3 separate regions of the Homo sapiens genome follow, and all the other regions are linked to region 1. Evidence: promoter capture Hi-C in human tissues and cell types (Jung and others, 2019). All regions are on one chromosome and are shown on one strand. The core of a region is centred on a gene start or on the middle of the fragment in contact, and the rest is flanking DNA. Distances in the headings are between cores, read along the strand shown. Region 1 holds the start of BMI1 (BMI1 proto-oncogene, polycomb ring finger). Region 2 has its middle 88 kb from the start of LINC03027. Region 3 has its middle 62 kb from the start of LINC03027.

Evidence for each region. Contacts are between HindIII fragments. The study calls those that stand out against the background at their distance.
Region 2: a fragment that was not itself captured here is called in contact with the fragment with the promoter of BMI1 in region 1 in 1 of the 25 tissues and cell types used here (lymphoblastoid cells).
Region 3: a fragment that was not itself captured here is called in contact with the fragment with the promoter of BMI1 in region 1 in 1 of the 25 tissues and cell types used here (hippocampus).

The regions. Positions count from the first base shown.
Region 1 is chr10:22,318,941-22,323,322 of GRCh38, reverse strand. BMI1 (BMI1 proto-oncogene, polycomb ring finger) reads right to left here and starts at 2,224. Exons shown (of 10, transcript NM_005180.9): 1 at 1,627-2,224. COMMD3-BMI1 (COMMD3-BMI1 readthrough) reads right to left here. Exons shown (of 14, transcript NM_001204062.2): 5 at 4,305-4,364. It overlaps COMMD3 (COMM domain containing 3), which reads right to left. Exons shown (of 8, transcript NM_012071.4): 7 at 4,305-4,364; 8 at 3,017-3,384. The coding sequence ends at 3,325. RefSeq lists silencers at 1,860-2,059, 2,250-2,419, 2,480-2,739. The HindIII fragment of the contact is 3,913 bases long and covers 1-3,146 here.
Region 2 is chr10:22,523,379-22,527,760 of GRCh38, reverse strand. No RefSeq gene overlaps it. Among named protein-coding and RNA genes, the nearest start is that of LINC03027, 88 kb to the right of the region's middle. The HindIII fragment of the contact is 4,160 bases long and covers 71-4,230 here.
Region 3 is chr10:22,497,492-22,501,873 of GRCh38, reverse strand. No RefSeq gene overlaps it. Among named protein-coding and RNA genes, the nearest start is that of LINC03027, 62 kb to the right of the region's middle. The HindIII fragment of the contact is 8,823 bases long and covers 1-4,382 here.

The sequences.
Region 1 (4,382 bases), core at 975-3,474:
TTCTGACTACACTTTGGGGTAGATGTATGGAATTAACTCAAATCTAAAAACTTATAATTTTGTTTATAAAATCAATCCCAGGGATTTCTGATCGGTCTACTTAAAACTCAAATGTTAACATATAGAGTCTCATAACTTGTTATATACTGTCAATAATTTGCATCCTTAAATATCAACTGTTTAGTGTAGCTTATAATGTGTTTCCAGAACATGGGAGTTAAGGTTCCTATAAAATATAGGTTGAACTACTCATAACGTTGTACACACCACCAACCTACACTTGCATTTGGATAAATATGCTCGGAATTTTGCCCACATTAAGGGAAGGGGTTAATACATGCTTCTCTTTCATATATTGAACCGTGACCACTAAGCCCACTAAATCCTTTTATTGCAAGTGGTAATGATCAAAGTCTCTCTACTTGTTTACTTCCAATTATTAACTGTAAATCTCTGGGAAAAAGATCATGCCATATCACTGTCAAGCCCAAGTGACTGCGTAAACATATGCAATCAACTTTTTAGTGCTCTTTTCTAAAGCATCCCTTTGCCAAATGACCTATGCTGACATTTAGCAAAACCTGTAAAAGATAGTGGACTGGAGTCATGATGCTGAGTGCATCCTTTAGTAGAAGTCGAGAGAAAAGTTGCAGTCTCCAAAAGGGGAAAAAAGAAAAAGGAGAAAAAGAAGTAGTGAGAAAGCAAGCCTCCAGCAAAGCTAACGTCCAGTCACCATCTTCACTCCACAAAAAGCTCCAAATTTGAAATGCCCACTTCCCAGGGAGCACCTCCCAAGCGATGTTCAGAGCACTTATCCAAGACTCCCAACACACACCACCTTGAAAACTTCAGCATTTTAAACACAAATGCAGGAGACCTTGGAAACAACTGGGAACCGCCATCTTACCAGCCATCCAATCTCAGACAAGTGTCCCCCCAACTTAAGTTAATAACATTTTCGTCGGGGCTCTCTCCAGCCTAACACCCACCTTGGCGGGATGGCCGCCCCCCACGCAACCCGTCCCTATAAAATGGGGGCGTTCTCTGGCTGCTGGAGCCCCTCCAGAGCCCTTTCTTCGGGAGAGGAGGGAAGCCACTTGACCCAAGCAGCTCCCGATTTCAGGAACCCGTCCCCGTTTCATCCAAATCTACCTCTCAACAAAGGGCGCTGCGGCCGGGAGAGCCGCCGAGGCTGGAAATACCAGTACTCCTCTCGGGGGCCATGTGCGTCGCGAGGGTGCGGAGGGGCGCCCGGGGGAGCGGGGAACTAAAACGTGGGGCCGCGCGCGGCGCGCCGGGGCTGAGCGGGCGGCGGCGGCTGGAGCGGCGCCGAGCCCTGCTGGCGGCGGCGGCGCGGCGCGGGCTGCGGGTCGGTCCCGGCGCCGCGGGAGTCGGCGGGCGGCGGCGGGCGCGCGCTCGCGGGCGCGGGGAGGGCGGCGCGCGGGGCCGGCAGGCGCGGGGCGGGCGGCGCGGGGCGCGGGGCCGGGCGCCCACGCTGTCAGCGCCCTCCCGGCGGCGCGGCCGGGGCGCGGGGGGGGCTCCCCTTCCACCCGCGGCCGCCCCGAGCCCCGCGCGGCCCCCGCCGGCCCCCAGCCCCGTCCCGGGGGCGCCTCGCCTCCTACGTACCCGGAAAGAGCAGCCGGCGCGAGGCGATCGAAGCGGGCGGAAAAGACAATGAAAGTTAAAAGTCGTTCAGCAGAAAATGAATGCGAGCCAAGCGGCCATCTTGAAGCGAGCTGCAGACGCCGCTGTCAATGGGCAACCAGCGCGGCCCCGAGCAGCCGCGGCCGCCACGCTCGTCTCATGCCGCCTCCGGCCGGCCTCCTCCTGCTCCGGCGCCTCGGCCTCCTCCGGCGCCTCGGCCTCCTCCTCCTCCGCCTCCGCCTCGACCTCCAACGCCTCCTCCTCCGGGGCCTCCTCCTCCTCCTCCTCGGCCGCCGCCGCCTCCTCCCGCTCCGCACTCGGGGGAGGGCGCGCGCGGAGGGGGCGCGATCGGTTTTATTCTGCGGGGCTGGGAGGTGCTGCTAAGCCGGAACGGGGCTCCCGCGCCCACATCCCCATTGTCTCGCCCCGATCTCTGCCTCTCATACTACGATTATTTCATAGTTGCTGTGGGGGAGGCGGGCGGGCGGGGGGCGCCGTGTGTGTGCGTGCGAGCGGGGGGAGGGGAGGAGGGGGAGGGGAGGGTGGAAAAAAATGCACCGCTGAAGGCAGAGTGGAAACTGACACCGGCTCCAAAATGGCTCGGAGTCCGCCCGCCCCCTCCCCCCGCCGCCCCCCCAGCGGGTCACGTGCTCCCCTCATTCCTTAAGGGCGGCCTGGGAATTAGTGTCGGTGTAGTCAGGCCCGTGGCCGCCCCCTCCCCTCCGCGCCGCGCGCCCGGCCCCCTCCCTCGCTCCGCGCCGCGGCGGCGGAGACATTTCTCCACAGCGCCACACGCGCCGCCCTGCTCCGCGCGGCCGCCGCTCCGGCCCCGCACGCCGCGCAGCCCACCCCGCCCCCCGTTCTTTCTTTCTCCCGGCCGCCCGCCTCCTCCCGGGGCGCATACGTCCCGCGGCCGCCGCCCCCCGGCCGGCCCCGCGGGCTGCGGCCCAGGCTCCGGCGCCGCGGCGCGGAACCTGCGCCCAAGTTGGGCTCGCGGAAACAACAGCGCCCGCCCCTGCCCGCCAGCCCGCGGCCGCGCCGGCCTCTTCCCCGCCCGCGGGCGGCCGAGGCGGGGCGCGCGCGGGCGACGGCTGGCTCCGGGCAGGGGCTCCGCGCCGGGCCGGGACCGGGCGGCCGAGGGTCGGGCTGTGGGCGAGCCCTCGGGCGCAGGTAACGGGCCGGGCAGCCGCCCGCGCCCGCCCCCGGAGCCCCGAAGCAGGGGTCTGCGACAAACCCAGGAGATCGCATCGTTTCCTCCGTGTTTAACTTTAATCCTGAGAAAAGGCTATCGTTAAAAGTTCACACTACTCCTATCTAGCTTCACACAAAGTAATAACACACGAACTCAGATCCAAACAAAATATCATCACTCTTTGTGGAAAACAACACCTTATTTATTCAGGGTGTAATACTGTCTACTTCCTTTCAGAAGACTTGAAAAAGATCAAAATAGGATAAATGGACAGTTACTACTAAACGATTCAAATACTTGGGCAGTATCTTTCCCTCTTAACCCTTTCACACGTTTTTAAAGTGTCAAAATTGATGAATGGTATAAATTCAAAAGGAAAATTCTTTTCTACTGAAAAGGACATCCAGCTCGCACAAACGGTGGTTCAGCTGAAGGCAAGGCGTTTCTGGTTTTCCTCTGCACTCGGGCGGATCGTTAACTTCCCCAAGTTACAACTGAGTTGCTCTTTCCAGGCTTTTCGAAGCATCTTTAAGTTTCCCCACCAAGTCCTAAAAGACGTGTATACAATACCACGTTTTTAGGATAAAACATGGAAAGAAGTATCCAAGCTCAAGAAAGATGCAAGAAAAAAAATCAGGACACACCTTCCAAACAAGTTTAAAATTCAACAAGATTTTAACTTTTGACAAACTACTATCGGGCAAAAAAAGCGTTTCCTCGGAAATACCTCATGTTCAAATCGGTTATTTGCCCTCACACTGAAACATGATTTCTAACCGGATCCTTAACCGCCCAGATACATCTGAATTTTCTCAAGTTATCTAACAAAGGTTATGCTGTATACACATTTTCTGAAAGTTGAAAGTTTGATTCATAGTTACATTAAAACGACTCTGCAGAAGATGCCTTTGAAAAATTCAATTTCACTTAAATTTCCAGTAATGAGCTTCATTTTTTAAAAACTATGAAATAAATTCGTTGTCATATCCACTAATAAATGTAGTTTTGAATTTTCCCAGTCTTAAATGGGCAATATAAACAGTTTTAGAATGTTATGTATACTTCCCCCTTTATAAAGTCATTTAAAAAGTTTCAAAATCCAATTTTGACAGTTTAATTCAATTTCTGAAAGCAAAGACATTTTCAAAGCCATGCTCTTAATTTTGTTTATCTTATTGGACCAAACTCATCATGAATAGAAGAAATTTACACTAAACACTACAGAAGTTTATTTCAATCAGCAAGAACAGCAAATACAGACCAATTCTCTATTAATAACATCTTAATTTCAAGTGAAGCCTATCTTAAAATACTACTTTTGATGCCCCTTTCCCATTAAATCCTTAACCAATCTTCATTATCTGCTGACAAATGGTTAGATTAATTTTCTTTTGAACTTCCCAAGAGTATAACTCTCAAGTAAACATTTATAAAAAGACAGGAATATTTATAGATCCTAATACTGTACCTGTAATTGTTCCATGCTGCAACTAAAACTAATCTCTGGATAGGATGGGGAATCAGTGTTCTAGGGCAGGAAAAAAAA
Region 2 (4,382 bases), core at 901-3,400, 200 kb before region 1:
AAATCCTTTCATAAAATATTCAACAAATTACGAATAAAGGGCAACTCCCTTAACCTCCATGGACATCTATGAAAAACTCACAGCCAGCATTGCACTTAATCCTGAAAGACTGAATATTTTCCTCCTGAGATCAGGAACAAGACAAGGATAACCACTCTTGCCACCTCTACTCAGCATTTGTCTTAATTAGTTTGGACTGCTATAATAAATTACCATAGACTGGTGGCTTAAACAACATTTATTTCTCACATTTCTGGAGACTAGAAGTCTGAGACTGAGTGCCAGCATGGTCAAGTTCTTGATGAGTACCCTTTTCTGTAGAGAAAGTAAGACTTTTTCTAGTTGCAGATGACATGATCTTACATATAAAAAATCTTAAGGAATCCACCAGAAGAAACTAATAGGGCTAACAAGTTCAGTAAGATTGCAGGGTACAAGATCAATAAACAAAAAGCAATTTTATTTCTATGCTAGCAATGAACAATCTGAAAATTGAAGACAATTGTATTTATAATAACATGGATAAAGTTTTTAAATCTGAAAATAAACTTAGCCCAAAAGTGTAAAACTTGTAGACTGAAAACAATAAAACATCATTAAAAGAAATTAAAGAAGACCTAATAAGTTGAAAGATATCCTATATTTATGGAAAGCATAACGTCATTAAGATAGCAATACTCCAGATTTAATCCAGTTTCTATCTAAATCCCTGCAGGCTGCTTTGCAGAAATTGACAAACTTATCCTAAAATTGTATGGAAATGCAAGGGACCCAGAATAGCCAAAACAATCTTGAAAAGTACAAAGTTGAAGGATGCACACTTTTAGATTTCACAGTTACAGAAATACAGCAATCAAAAGTGTGGACAGATATACATATAGATCAAAGAAATATAATACAGATTTCAGAAATGAACCCTTACATTTACGGTCAATTGATTTTTCATGAGGGTGCCAAGACAATTCAGTAGGTGAAAGAATAGTCTTTTCCACAAATGATGCTAGGACAACTACGTATCCACGTGCAAAAGAATGAAATAGGACCCCTACCTCACATCATACATGAAAAATTAATTCATAGTGCTTCAAAGACTTAAATGAAAAAACTAAAACTAAAATTCAGAAGAAAACATAGGCAGAGGCTATGGCTTGGATAAGTATAACGAAAAAGCAAGTGTTGGTGAAGATGTGGAAGAATTAGAACCTTCATATACTGCCTGTAAGTGTGTAAAATGGCACAGCTACTTTGGAAAACAGTCTGGGAGTTCCTTGAATGGTTAAATATAGGTTACCATATGACTTGGGAATTTTAGTCCTGGGAACATACCCTAGAGAAGGGCTGCATCCTTTCTGGAAGCCCTGGTGGAGAATTTGTTCTCTTGCCTTTTCCAGGTACAGATTGTCTGCATGGTTTGGATATTTGGTTTCATCCTTATCTTCAAAGCCAGCAATATAGCATCTTTCTCTGGCTCTGCTTCCATCATATGTCCTTGATTAAATTAGCTGCTGGACTATCTAGTTAGTATGTTTTTTCTAGTTTGCATGTCTCTGAAAGAAAGGCAGCAGCCCCAGTCAGGGGCTTACAGATGAAACTCCCATCTCCCTGGGACAGAGCATGAGGGAAGGGGTAGCTGTGAGCCCAGCATCAGCAGTCTTACAAGTTCCTGCCTGCTGGCTCTGAAGAGAGCAGGTCTCCCAGCACAGTACTCGAGTTCGGCTAACGGACAGACTGCCTCCTCAAGTGGGTCCCTGACCCCTATGCCTGCTGACTAGGAGAGACCTCCAAAAAGGGGTTGACAGATACCTCACACAGGAGAGCTCTGGCTGGCATCAGGCTGGTGCCCCTCTGGGACTAAGCTTCCAGAGGAAGGAGCAGGCAGTGACCTTTGCTGTTCTGCAGCCTCCAGTGGTTATACCCAGGTGAAGAGGGTCTGGAGTGAACCTCCAGCAAAATGCAGCAACTTGCAGAAGAGGGGCCTGACTTTTAGAAGAAACACTAACAGAAAGCAACAACATCAACAAAAGAGCCACACAAAAACCCCATCCAAAGGTGATCAGCCTCAAAGATCAAAGGTAGATAAATCCACGAAGGTGAGGAAAAATGAGCACATAAATGCTGAAAATTCCAAAAACAAGAATGCCTCTTCTCCTCCAAATGATCACAACTCCTCTCCAGTAAGGGCACAAATCTGGACAGAGAATGAGGTTGATAAACTGACAGAAGTAGGCTTCAAAAAGTGAGTAATAACAAACTCCTCTGAGCTAAAGGAACATGTTCTAACCTAATGCAAAGAAGCTAAGAACCTTGATAAAAGGTTACTGGAACTGCTAACTAGAATAATCAGTTTAGAGAAGAACACAAATGACCTGATGGAGCTGAAAAACACAGCACGAGAACTTCATGAAGCATACACAAGTATCAATAGCCGAATAAAGTGGAAGAAAATATATTGGAGATTGAAGATCAATTTACTGAAATAAGGCATGAAGACAAGATTAGAGAAAAAAGATTGAAAAGGAATGAACAAAGCCTCCAAGAAATATGGGACTATGTGAAAAGACCAAACCTACAATTGACTGGTGTATCACAAAGTGATGGGGAGAATGGAACCAAGTTGGAAAACAAATTTGAGGATATTACCCAGGAGAACTTCCCCAACATAGCAAGACAGGCCAACATTCAAATTCAGGAAATACAGAGAACACCACTAAGATAATCACAGAGAAAAGCAAGCCCAAGACACATGTTTATCAGATTTTCCAAGGTTGAAACAAAGGATAAATGTTAAGGGCAGCCAGAAAGTTCGGGTTACCTACAAAGGGAAGCCCATCACACTAACAGCAGATCTCTCTGCAGAAAGCTGGCAAGCCAGAAGAGGGTGGGGGCCAATATTCAACATTCTTAAAGAAAAGAATTTTCAACCCAGAATTTCATATCCAGCCAAACTGAGCTTCATAAGCAAAGGAAAAATAAAATCCTTTCCAGACAAGATAAGCAAATGCTGAGGGATTTTGTCACCACCATGCCTGCCTTACAAGAGCTCCTGAAGGAAGCACTGGGTATGGAAAGGAAAAACCAGTACCAGCAACTGCAAAAACATGCCAAATTGTAAAGACCATCCAAGCTATGAAGAAACTGCATCAACTAATGTACAAAAAACCAGCTAGCATCATGATGACAGGATCAAATTCAAACATAACAATATTAACTTTAAATGTAAATGAGCTAAATGCCCCAATTAAAAGACACAGACTGGCAAATTGAATAAAGAGTCAAGACCCATCAGTGTGCTGTATTCAGGAGACCCATCTCACATGCAAACATACACATAGGCTCAAAATAAAGGGATGGAGGAATATTTACCAAGCAAATGGAAAGAAAAACAAAACAAAACACAACAAAACAGGGATTGCAATCCTTATTTCTTATAAAATAAACCAACAAAGATCAAAAAAGACAAAGAAAGGCATTACATAATAGTAAAGGGATCAATGCAACAAAAGCTAACTATCATAAATATATATGCACCCAATACAGGAGCACCCAGATTCATAAAGCAAGTTCATAGAGACCTACAAAGAGACTTAGACTCCCACACAATAACAGTGGGAGATATTTACACCCCAATGTCAATATTAGATCAACAAGACAGAAAATTAACAAGGATATTCAGGACTTGAACTCAGCTCTGGACCAAGTGGACCTAACCTACATCTACAGAACTCTCCACCACAAATCAACAGAATATACATTCTTCTCAGAGCCACATAGCACTTATTCTAAAATCGACCACATAATTGGAAGTAAAACACTCCTCTGCAAATGCAAAAGAACAGAAATCATAACAAACTGTCTCTCAGGCCACAGTGCAACCAAATTAGAACTCAGGATTAAGAAACTCACTCAAAACCATACAACTACCTGGAAATTGAACAACCTGCTCCTGAATGACTACTGGGTAAATAACGAAATTAAGGCAGAAATAAAGAAGTTCTTTGAAACCAATGAGAACAAAGAGACAATGTACCAGAACCTCTGGAACACAGATAAAGCAGTGTTAAGAGGGAAATTTATAGCACTAAATGCCCACATCAGAAAGCTGGAAAGATCTAAAATTGACACCCTAACATCAAAATTAAAAGAACTAGAGAAGCAAGAGCAAACAAATTCAAAAGCTAGCAGAAGACAAGAAATAAGTAAGATCAGAACTGAAGGAGATAGAGACACAAAAAACCCTTCAAAAAAAGCAATGAATCCCAGAGCTGGTTTTTTGAAAAGATTAACAAAATAGACCACTAGGTAGACTCATAAAGAAGAAGAGAGAGAAGAATGAAATAGACACAATGAAAGTGATAAAGGGGATATCAACACCAATCCTACAG
Region 3 (4,382 bases), core at 760-3,259, 180 kb before region 1:
ATCTCCAAACAGAGCAAATGAGATACACAAAGGTAACGTGTTTCTCCAACATCACACAAGGATTCTCTAGCTATGGTGAAGGCAAGAATTGTACCTAATTCTCAGTTTTTAAATCTTGCTAGGAGAACATGTTCCCTCCCTTTAGGCCAATAAGTCATATTAACCCAAGAATTGATGTTGCTATTCCAATCTAATAATAAAGGTCACTTCCAGTAATGGGAAAAGGACACATTTGCATATATCACTCACAGCCCATTGTCCTGAGAACAGAGCCTGGAGCCAAACAAAGCCTTCCTCACGCAGTAGAATCACAGGGGCCTTCAAAATTCTTATCTATCTCGATGGTCCTGAATATGTGGCCCATGTCACAATATAAAAATATGACTGTCAGCTCTAGACAGGTTGGTGTTAGTCTAAATGCCACAGGAAGGATGTGTGTGTGTGTGTGTGTGTATACGTGTGTGTTTCACCAAAGCTATTTACTAGAGACAATCATTTTTTTTCCCTATAGCCCTCTCTGTAATTCCTAATTTTAAGAGGGAGAGAGGAAACAAGATGACTTGTGTTGGCATCAATATGTGTGAAAAGTGCCAAGGTACATAACTGATTATTGTGAGCTGCAGGGTTGCATGTGGTTTTGTTTTTTAGCAGCTTATCCCTGTTGACAGAAAGAAACTCCTGACAGATGAGCAGATAAATGTCACTGAAAAACACCACAAACTTCTGTCTCCCTTCAGCTCTCGCAGTAATGAATTGAAGCATCTGCATCCTTTGCCCTGAAGCCTGGGAACACTGGACACTGAATTCATTCATCTTCCCTCCCGGCTTCCCTCACTCCGCATCTTTTGTAACATCTATTTCCTAACAGTCTCCAGGCCCGGTGTTAAACTTCAAATCTGGGAAAAAACTGGATTGGCTTCTGGCACTGGAAACTTTTCTCCATGAAGCCTTTTTATATGGTTTTGGCAGGCACATATAATACCAGTGGAGAGAGAAATCCCGCTGGCGAGAGAAAATAAAAACTTTAACATAACTGTAATGGCCCTGAGTGGTGTTTTACATGTTATGCTTGCTCAAGATTTATGTTAAAGTCAACCTTGCAAAAGAGGCTTTTTAAAAAATCTATCAAGCTGCCAAAGTTTAAACAGCTCTTTCTTTACTATCCAATGACAGTAGATTTTAACAACTTAAATGACCTGGGACAAACGCATTTCTCAGTATTCAATTTCACCCTGTAGTCTTTCAGTTACTTCACCAATGTCTGAGAACTTTTGTCCCTCTCTCCTCTTTCTTCTTTTTCTATATTTCTCTCTCCAAAATGTGAGAGGGATATAAGTGAAATGAAACTAATTAATCCAAAGTCACTGAAGTTAATATTTTTTTAAAGAGATGGAGTCTCACTCTGTCATCCAGGTGACAGTGGTGTAATCATAGCTCACTGCAGCCTCAAACTCTTGGGTTCAAGCAATCCTCCTGCCTCAGCCTCCCAATGAAATTAATTTTTTAATTTATGTATCTTTTTAATTAGAGATAGGATCTTGCTCTATCACCCAGACTGGAGTACCGTGGAGTGATCAAAGCTCACTGCAGCCTCAAACTCCTGGGCTCAAATGATCCTCCTGCCTCAGCCTCCAGAGTAACTGGGACTATAGATGCACACCACGATACCTGGCTCATTTTTTTTATTTTTTGTAGAGATGGGATCTTGCTATGTTGCCCAGGCCAGTCTTGAACTCCTGGCCTCAAGTGATCCTCCCAGCTGGGCCTCCCAAAGAGCTGGGATTACAGGTGTGAGCCACTGCACCTGGCAGAAATTGATGTTTAATTTGATGATCACATTCAGAAGTATTCTTTCCTGGCCCCAGAGTTATTCCCAGACATCTCTGCCAGACCTGAACATTGTCACTGTTCACTCTGGCACCACTAACTGCCAGGTGGTTTCTTCCTGAGCTTGCTGGTTGTCACTGTTCCACACACATGCTTCCCCAGGTCAGCTCCCACAGCCAGGCCAGTGTGCCCCTAGGGGCAGGGTCTCTGCCCAAAAGCCTTTGGCACCCCCGGCTCACTCCATGGAACCTACTCCCCTACACAGGACTTCTTCCATGTGGAAAGAGGAAACACCTCTGCACATGTGTAACTAAGCAAAATGGAAACACCGTCTGCCTGTAAATAAGCAATACTGATGTCTCCCTGAGCTGGCTGATCAATTCCCCTGGCAGCTTATAGTTTTTCAATCACTGCCTCTGACAATTCCTGACAAAAAGATATTTCCACTCATGAGCTCCTTTGTGTGGCTTAAATATACATGGCTGAAATGAGGATTGTGTCTCTAATAAGAAGCCAGTCTAACAACACACCAGAAGTGTTTTCTTTTTTTTTCTTTCCTTTTTTCTTTTTCCTTTTAAACATATTCATCCTGTAGAGGCCACCTGCTTCCAAGAAGGAGCTGAGGCAGCGGAACCAGGTGGGCAGGTAATGAGTTTTCATGCTGATGTGATACCTCAGGTGCCCAGTAAGTGACAAGGGGCAAAACCTATGGGTGAAAATGAGAAGGGACAGAATTCAAAAACCACCTTCAAGGAGGAAGGAGGTTGGCCAGCTGTTTTCAATTCCAAGTCAAGACAGGAGAGAAAAATAGGCTGGGGCAGTGAAGTGGAGAGAGAGAAAGACTTTCTAGTCAACTCAAGTCCTGGTCTGAGGCTGCACCCCCGCCCTTGAGAACCTCACCAGGGCATTAACCAGTCCCCACCACAAGGACCAGACAGAGGCCCCTCTGGCCACAAGATTCTGTGTAGGGACTCTGGAGCCATGTATAGCCTATGAATCCTTTCAAGTTTATTCGAACTTATAGTGTTTTATATTGGCTCTAATAGTTTAAACGCAAAGGGCAATGCTGGGAATGACCATCAAAATTTTAAAACCTCAGTGCTGCCCCAGCCACAGCTGCAGGCTGTGTCCACTGTCTAAGCCTGCTGCAAAGCCCACCTGGCCTCTGTGGGGGTCTTTGCAGAATGTTCTGCACACAGGACCCTCAGGTAGGGTGTTTCTACTGTGAGATGTGCGGTGACTATTCCCTGGGAATATGACCAGATCTGAAAGGAAGTATGTGTCTTTTGAAGACAGATAAAAATGCAAAAGTTGGCCAGCCACAGTGGCTCACACCTGTAATCCCAGCACTTTGGGAGGCCAAGGTAGGAGGATTGCTTGAGGACAGGGGTTTGAGAATAACGTGGGCAACATAGCAAGATCCTGTTTCTAGGAAAATAAAAAAATTAGCCAGGCGTGGTAGCACATGCCTGTAGTCCAGCTGGGAGGCTGAGGCAGGAGGACAGCTTGAGCTGAGGCATTCTAAACTAGAGGGAGCCATGATCATGCCACTACACTCCAGCTGTGATCATTCTACTGCACTCCAGCCTGGGCAACAGAGCAGACCCTGTCTCAAAGAAAAAGAAAAAAAGGCAATGGTGTAGAAGGCACCACTTGTCTTTTCCATTGAAATGACCCACCTTCACCCCTCTCAACCCCCATGCCAAGTCCCAGGGGGCCTGTACCACTTCTACCAAAAGAAGCTGTTAACCACTAAGTAGAACTTTGCACAAATTATCCCCTCAAGGGCCCTCTGACCTGCATACATAGAGTAGTCTTGGATGGTCATATTCATAATTTTACAATATGCCCAGTGACAGTCATGGTTCCCAGGTACCTAGGAACTGCCAGATATCTAGTAAATTCTAAATCACTATGCCAATGTTCATTTTTCTTATCTGATGGATATCGAGTATGGTCAAATAAAACTAGACTTGCCACACAAAAGCTTTGCTCCATCGGTGGTGGGGCCAGGGTAGAGAGAAAGCCATCCAACCTGAGAAGCCTCATGGCAGCTGTGAGCATCCTGAGGAAACATTCTTGTAGAGTGATGAACAGGACAGCTGCTAAAGGTGTGACCCATTTCTGGGGGGTCTAGGGGCACAGATAGCTGACACTAGCTAGCCCAGATGTCTGAGACGGCTTCTGAGCTGGCTCAGGCTCCCTGCCCTTTCTCCCATTTAGTTATGGAAATCGTTTTCTAAAATATTGAGCTCATCATTAAAAATAAATAGGTGAATGGCTCTGCCCCCACCTGCCTCCCAGCCCCTGACCTGTAAGGCAGAATTCAGTGTCCTCCCTCAAACATTCTAGCGCCTCCCCCAGTTGGTCACAGGCCCCTCTAATAAATGTGCCGCAGTCCTCCAACAGGGACCCTCTGCTGTAACCATGCTCTCACCTCAACTAGTGATTAACATCACCTTTCAGTTCCATGAGCATGAACTCTGCCACCAGAAACATCTTTCCCCCATTTCTCCATCCATGCAGCTGCTGCCATTCCTTCAGCATCCTCTCCA